Linked DNA regions of Homo sapiens: region 1 is linked to region 2. Evidence: promoter capture Hi-C in 16 types of primary human blood cells and fetal thymus (Javierre and others, 2016). All regions are on one chromosome and are shown on one strand. The core of a region is centred on a gene start or on the middle of the fragment in contact, and the rest is flanking DNA. Distances in the headings are between cores, read along the strand shown.

Region 1 (4,069 bases), core at 1,218-3,717, 320 kb after region 2:
GGCCACAGGTTCAAGACAAGGTCACTTTCCAAAGAGCATTTTCTCATATATTTCTGTTTCTCTTTCATAGTATGGATCAGAAAGTGACCCTTTACAAATGAACCACGGAGCACCTCAGTACTTAGCTCATACCTCATACCTTAGTTCCTTAGTACTTAGCCTTGTGCCATCTTGAATGAGATGGAGTGAAGTGAAGCTCGAAGGAGTGACAGAGACATAGTCCTTGCTCTCAAGGGGTCTTTAGCCTGGTCTGGGGGACAAGATTTCCTCATCTACCTCTTGAAAGGTGGCAGGACAACTCCACACTGGAGTGTTCTCACCAGCAGATAGGTGCTGCGGGAGTGTGGCGCCACATTCTTTATAGCCACAGGCTTTCGTGGACTTCCCCTGGGTTCCTTCCTATTGGCTGGTGGACCATAGCGGCAGTGAATGTGCAAACTCATTCACATTAATCATTTTATTTTTATGTACATAGAATTATATGTGTAATCATTTTATGCATATGTGTCTGAGTGTACACACACACACGTGCACATATAGATTTTTAAATTTAGCAAAGATATTTTAGTTACCTTTCCTTCAAGGAACACTTATATTTTCTGCCCTGCTGCTGCTGCTGCTGCTGTTGCTGTTGCTGCTGCTGCCTTTTCATGACAGTTGTTCTTTTTACCTGTTGCCATAACCAATTTGTGAATCATTCTGGATGTCTTCCCAGGCAGATATGAATTGCAGCAGGCTAAAGTGAATCCTCTTCTCAGAGCAAAAATACCACCTCCCGGGGCTCCAGCAGCAAAGCCCTGCACACATGAAAAACTGTGCAAACCCACTCAACCACAATTCAGGTGGGAATAAGAAGTTGGAGCTGCTTATGAAGTCAGACAATTCTTGATAATAGCTTTGATTTTTGTGTTCTTTTGATTATAAAATTCTTGTCAGAATGTTTTAAAAAAAGAAGTGAGACACAGAATTCCCAACTAGATGACTGTGGCAGAGGGAACACAAGATGCCCTCACTGCCACCATTCCCTCCTATTTCTGTTCACGCTAAGCATTTTCTGTCTAATGCACCCACTCTGCGGGGAGCAAAAGCGGCAACACTGGTTCCGCGTCTTGGCAGCTAGCTACAGTGTGATGTCAGTTTTACTCCTGGAGGTTTCTGAGGTCTCCTGCCCCTTGTTTCATAGGAAAGATGGCTTTGGCTTTGTTGCCTCGGTAAAGCGTTGGATTAAGTCCTGAGGCCCTGACATTGGTTGCCCCCTTTTATTGACGCCATCTCCCTGATTGTACATTAGATGATCTGCCCATGGCCAGCTGAGCTTCTTGATGTCTGTGAGCACTGATGGGATTGGTCTTGTCACACGGGCTGGACCCAGACCCTAAAGCAGGTCTTAAAAGCGTTTTCCCATTCCCCAGTGAAGGTGGGAACCAACTGATGGACCGTCACCAGCCTGGCACCCCTTGCTCAGCTGTTTGTAATCAGGTGTCTTCTGCCCCCTGCCTCTCCCAGGGCTATTGCTGTGCCAGTGACCTGACCTTTCCTGGCCCAGTCAATTAAAATCATTTTTTCTGAGTCTTAGAATTCTTGTCACCCCACCATGATAGGGACATCTCAGTTACCTTCTTGGGAAGAACCTTCGGCTTCCTAAATGTTTGCTAGAGTTGCTATACGAATACTACAGACAGGGTGTCCTAAACAACAGAAGCTTGTTTTCTCACAGTCTGATATTAAGGTATCACCAACGTGGGTTTCTTCCGAGACCTCTCTGTCTGGCTTGTAGATGGATACTTTCTCCCTGTGTCTTCACGTGGTCTTCCCTTTGTGTATATCTATATTCTAATCTCCTTTTCTTTCAAAGGACACCAGTCTGTTGGAGTAGGGCCCATCCCCAATTGACCTCATTGTTAACTTAATTACTTCTTTAAGAAGGCCCTATCTCTAAACACAGTCACATTCTGAGGTTCTAGGGGTTAGAACTTCAATATATGAATTTGAGAGTTTGGGGGAGATACAATTCAGCCTGTAACACCAAGATTTTACCCCCAAACTAATAAGTTCTATTGTGTTCTTCTCCCACTTGCAGTTACTGCCTGGCAGTAAGTGTCAGGAGGTGCTTTGGAGGTCCATGGGCAATGGCTCGCTCCAAGCCTGGAATAAATGACCTCTGGGGTTGACAGGCACCGAGAGACAACTGGACCCAGGGCTCTTAACCCTGTCCACCAAAGCCACTCTGCCCCATCTCCCAGAAGGGATCCTCAAAGCTGAGCTATCCCAAGGCACACTTGTTTTCTAACTGAGGGTGTTTTCCTAAATGCCAGTGGGGAAGAACACCAGTGCCGATATGCTAGGCTAGACCCAGCCATGCAGAGTACAGAGGAACTGCCCTTGCCTGCACCAGGCAAATCTTTCATGGGTGTTTTGAGCACTTACTATATACCACATACTGTCCTGGGTATTTACTTTCTTTGGAAAAAAAAAAAAGGCCAGGTGCGGTGGCTCACGCCTGTAATCCCAGCACTTTGGGAGTCCAAGGCAGGTGGATCACAAGGTCAGGAGATCGAGACCATCCTGGCTAATGCGGTGAAACCCTGTCTCTACTTAAAAACACACACACACACACACACACACAAAATTAGCTGGGCATGGTGGCATGCGCCTGTAGTCCCAGCTGCTCAGGAAACTGAGGCAGGAGAATCTCTTTGAACCCTGGAGGCGGAGGTTGCAGTGCTGAGATCGCTCCACTCCACTCCAGCCTGGGTGACAGAGCAAGACTCCATCTAAAAAAAAAAAAAAAAAAAAAAAGAAGAAGAAACCTACCATTCACCATTTTATTATTATTTTTTCTTTTGGTTAAGATCTTTCTATGTTGCCCAGGCTGGTCTCCAGCTCCTGGGCTCAAGTGGTCCTCCTGCCTCTGTCTCCCAAAGTGCTGGGATTACAGATGTAAGCCACTGCACCAGCGACACTATTTTGTTCTTTAACATAACAATCATATTAACACCAAAAATGTAAGGCAGACATATTCTTAAGCAGTTCTTTGCATGAAAATAATTTGGCTTTAAAATACTACACTTTTCTGTTTTTCTCATTCTGCTGTGAACCAGAGACTTCGTTACAAAAAGTTATCATTTGAACTTAGCTTTGAAGGTGAATAGGAGAGAGGTTGGTGTGGGCCTAGGGAAAATTCTACAAAAAAGGATAGGTCATGAATGTTCTGGAAAGAACATAAGCTTTGGAGGTAGACACAGATGGTTTGGAATCTTGGCTCCGGCACACATTGTGTATGACCTTGAGAACAAATATGAACTCATGGTATGGGAGCTCCCTGGCTTTCACACTTGGGCAGTGGGGTGTTAATTTGCATTGGTAGTGGTGAGGATGGAAGTACGTAGGCCTTATTAATATTAGAAGACCTCTAGTGGTACCTCCGATCTCTCCCGGAATCTGTAATACATCCTCAGAATGAGAGTAGCTGTTGTCATTTTTATTGAAGTGGGCACAGATACACAAACAATTGTCATTAAAATGCTGCCGGTCCTAAGAAGCTGTCTCCAGTGCATATGGCTTTCTTCATCCTCATTAGGCATTCCAGGCAGTTACAACCAAGCAGCCGCTTACACACCTGTGGATGTGACTCCACACATATGGATGCATTGCCGTAGTCCTTTGGGATGAAATCTGTGCCAGAGATTGGTCTCATTTCACAAGGTTAGGAAGAAATAGACCGTCATCTAATTGTTAATGAGCTGTGATGAATTTGACATCATAACCAGGGAGAGAAATTTACTGCAAACTAAAGCATTCTTTTCTTTTTTCTTTCTCACTCTTTTTCACCCCAAGACACATATCACATTTTCAGAAGGGTTTTTTCTTGTCTGAGATGGGAAGAGACTTTTGAGCATGTTTGTGCACTGAACAGCAGGAGCCAAGAGAGGGGGAAACTAACAGATGGAGCAAGACCTTGGCAGAAGTAGGAGGTGATGGAATTAGGAGGCAAGTGGAGGGATCTCCACTCGTGCTATGTTACTGCCACGTTCACACACCCATTCCCCAAGGGGGAACAGTTGGCCTT
Region 2 (4,021 bases), core at 1,522-4,021:
ACACACACACACACACACACACACACACGGTGTGCATTATCTGAATGAATTGTACCAGAAACCAGAAACCCACCGGTAATCCTTTTTTATGCCTTTTATTTCCCCAACACATTTACCAGTCCCAGAGTTAGATTAGGCCTCCTCTGAAGTATCTCTTGAATTTCACTATTCGTATCCATCCCTCAGTGTACCTGCTTACAACAGCTATCTCCACTTGTTTGATCTGTGCCTCCCTTTAATTTGTCTTGCCCAAATCTCCTATTCCAGTATATTATCCACAATGCATTCTAAGTCGTCCTACTAAAATGCAAATCAGATCATGTCACTCCTCTGGATAAAATATTTCAGTGATTCCCCTTTTCTCATGACAAGGGTCTGGATTTCTGTAAATGGTTTATGATGTTCTTTTTTTTTTTTTTTTTTTTTTGAGATGGAGTCTCGCTCTGTCACCCAGGCTAAAGTGCAGTGGCACGATCTCAGCTCACTGCAAGTTCCGCCTCCTGGGTTCACGCCATTCTCCTGCCTCAGCCTCCCGAGTAGCTAGGGCTACGGGTGCCCACCACCACACCCGGATAATTTTTTGTATTTTTAGTAGAGACGGGGTTTCACCGTGTTAGCCAGGATGGTTTCGATCTCCTGACCTCGTGATCTGCCCACCTCGGCCTCCCAAAGGGCCGGGATTACAGGCGTGAGCCACTGTGCCTGGCCTAGTTTATGATGTTCTACACAATCTGGCCTATGATTATCTCTAGTCCAGTTTCATCTCTAGCTATTTTCCCACCTTATGTTAGCCTCTAGACTTTTATAAATAACACAAGCTGTGCCTGAACACTCTTCTACCTGCCCTTTGACTGGCTAACTTTTATATATTTATCCCATCTCAGCTTAGATACTTCCTTTTTCTCCTGGAGGTTCCTAATGCCAGTATCAATGTTCTTCCTGGGTGGTACCACAGCATCCTACGGTGACGAGGAGGAGGTGGCCTAGATCCTTCCTTTTCTTGGTAAAGGGTGGAAGCAGTGTGGATACTTTACTTGGTGTGTTCTGATATCCATGTGTCACTAGGCACTTGTTCTTTGTGTCTTCACATCTCCTCCTGTTGCATTTTAAAGCACTTTCATAGTATATGGTTTTGCCTAATAAAGCATTCTCATAGCAAAAAAAAAAGTATGGTATTGTGCAAATAAGTGCTCACTCCAAATTAGTGGTATATTTATTGAAGTTTAATATTGTGTTTGTGATACAGAAGTATTTGCTTTAATTCTAAATAAAAATTTTATGCTTTTATTGCTGGTTTAAGAAGATTTGGATTATCCTTGTACTTTGAGGAGAAGTTTCTTATTTGAAATATTTTGGAAACAGGTCTTTTAATGTGGAAAGATAGATATTAATCTCCTCTTCTATTACTCTCCAAGATCCAACAAAAGTGATTATACCCCCCAAAATATGATGGTAGTATCTTATACTACCATCATTTTATAGGCATAGGGCTCTTAGCTGCAAATAATGGAACTAACTCTAATAAAGCAGAACGCAAATATTGTAAATATTAGAGAGCTAACAATCTCTGGGATGGCTAAAGGATGGAGCTTGGAGGCTACCCAGCCAGTAACAATATTCCGGGCTCCACTGTTGAATGGAGACACTACAACTGCCTTGGATGGGCAGAGATATTATGGATGCTAAGCCCCAGGTGCTACCATTAGGACTTCTACCACTGTCCCTAACGGGTGGAGCCCATCACATGCCTATGCCCTCACTGTAAGGAAATGAAGCTACTGTTGTATATCTTGGGAAGCACTTGGATTAATTGTTATACAGTTTTGTTGAAGAAGACCCCTAGGGTAAGTAGCCATAACTGCACACTAAATTTAAAATTGTTAATGAGTTTCTCAAAAAAAATGTTAAGGTTGTTAGCTGGTATAGTATATATCTTGCCTGTTTTCCAAGGACTTCTTTGGGCAGTACCTTGTCTGTGCTGGCAAGCAACTGAGACTTAATGAAAGAGTATTGGAGATATGAATGAATTGATGCTGTATACTCTCAGAGTGCCAAACATATACCAATGGACAAGAAGGTGAGGCAGAGAGCAGACAGGCATTAGTGACAAGCAAAGATATGCAGAATTTCATTCTCAGCAAATCAAAAGTCCTCAACCTGGTTGGAAGAATATTGGCACTGAATGGTATCAATAAGGTTGCTAGAGAGGGTTAGAGGTGCACAATGTGCTTCCATAACATTTTATACTTCTCCAATCTTAGCACTAATCAAACATGGTTGAATACTTTGTTTACTATAACTCTTACAGAGTTATAAGATCTGTGAAGACAGGGACAGGGACAATACCCATCTCTGTCTGGTTCATAGGTGGTATGTAATAGATATTTTTAAAAATAAGTGAGTTAATGAATGAGGGTGAGAATGAAGGCACAGAGGTATTAGGGGGAGGTGGGCCCCAGAGAATGGTGCCAAGGTCCAGTGGGGTGACTGGGATCAGCTCAGGCCTGACGCTGGCCACTCCCACCTAGCTCCTTTCTTTCTAATCTGTTCTCATTCTCCTTGGGAAGGATTGAGGTCTCTGGAAAACAGCCAAACAACTGTTATGGGAACAGCAAGCCCAAATAAAGCCAAGCATCAGGGGGATCTGAGAGCTGAAAGCAACTTCTGTTCCCCCTCCCTCAGCTGAAGGGGTGGGGAAGGGCTCCCAAAGCCATAACTCCTTTTAAGGGATTTAGAAGGCATAAAAAGGCCCCTGGCTGAGAACTTCCTTCTTCATTCTGCAGTTGGTGCCAGAACTCTGGATCCTGAACTGGAAGAAAATGTCTATCCAGTAAGTATCTCTGGGAGACTTTTTTAAAACACCTTCATGGATTCATGATAAATGTGCTATTTCAAGGGCTCCTGAAGAGAAGGCATTGATTAATGACCTGTTTAGGAAAGACCCTTGAATTTTGGTGGGGAAATTTTTTCCTGCTTATGTATTAAAGCAACTAGCTAGAATTCAGGTCCAAATTATGGGGGGTTTGTGTGACTTAGCCCGGGGTTTGGAAGCAGTCTTGAGTATGGGGATTTCAGACAGACTTGGGCTCCACTCCTTGCCCAGTCATTTCCTAGTGTGTGACTTTGGACAAATTACCTAACTTTTTAAGTCTAGCTTTTCCTGTATATAGAAAGATGTCACAATAGCTTTTACTCCATTATGTTACTGTGAGATTTAAAAGAGATAATACCATGCAAAGTTCTTTTTATGGTATGTAGGACATAGTAATTGTTTAGTAAAAGGTAATTATTATAATTGAGTCTGGTCAGAGATTCCACTCTTTGAAGTTACAACATGAAACTGAACAGAGGATGTAGAAAGTAAACAAAAATATAGAACCTGAATCTCCTGGTCTGACTATGATGAAAAAGTACTGTAGGTCTTGGGGATTGGTAGAGAAATGAGATGATGGGGAAAAAATTATGGTATAATATGAGTGAATAATGAAAGATGAGGTACCTGACCCAAAAAGCTGTCATCTCTCAACCCCTAGGAAGGAGATAAATGGGTCTCTCCTTGAGGCAAGAAAATCAATGATGCTGTGAGCTGAGCATGTTGATAGGGTGGGAGAATACTGTGGGAAGGACCCTGTTTAGGAACAAATTTCAGGAAGTGAACTGATGGCAGTAGGATTGATTGATTTGTCTTCCGAAGTAAGGAAAAACTGCAGAGGACAGGATTAAGTTCACTGTAACCATTGACATTAAAAGAGAGGTCATGTCTCTTGACATCAGAGCAGTGATCTGGGACCCCCTTCCATACCTGAGTAGTCTTCCCCACCCCCAGCCTCACGTGCTCCTCCCGCCCTCACCTTCGCTTCTCCCCCCACCCCCACCCCCACCCAGCTGAGACTAGACCGGCAGGAGTGAACAGGCTTTGAGCCAGCCCTAGAGTGCCTTCTCTCCTGCAGCTCTGCCTCTATCTCTGCGGACTTTGAGCATCAACATGGGCTTCTTCCTTATTCTTCCACCATTTCAGGGT

Evidence for each region. Contacts are between HindIII fragments. The CHiCAGO score rates a contact against its expected background, and 5 or more counts as called.
Region 1: a fragment that was not itself captured here is called in contact with the fragment with the promoter of RPE65 in region 2 in 7 of 17 cell types (total B cells, naive B cells, M0 macrophages and 4 more); the score reaches 14.3 in total B cells.

Annotation. Positions count from the first base shown.
Region 1 is chr1:68,129,620-68,133,688 of GRCh38, reverse strand. All of the region lies in intron 11 of WLS (Wnt ligand secretion mediator), which reads left to right. All of the region lies in intron 8 of GNG12-AS1 (GNG12, DIRAS3 and WLS antisense RNA 1), which reads right to left. Among named protein-coding and RNA genes, the nearest start is that of MIR1262, 52 kb to the left of the region's middle. The HindIII fragment of the contact is 1,525 bases long and covers 1,705-3,229 here.
Region 2 is chr1:68,448,704-68,452,724 of GRCh38, reverse strand. It overlaps RPE65 (retinoid isomerohydrolase RPE65), which reads left to right and starts at 2,771. Exons shown (of 14, transcript NM_000329.3): 1 at 2,771-2,830; 2 at 4,019-4,021. The coding sequence starts at 2,820. LOC124904198 (a long non-coding RNA gene) reads right to left here. Exons shown (of 2, transcript XR_007066164.1): 2 at 1,202-4,021. The HindIII fragment of the contact is 10,150 bases long and covers 1-4,021 here.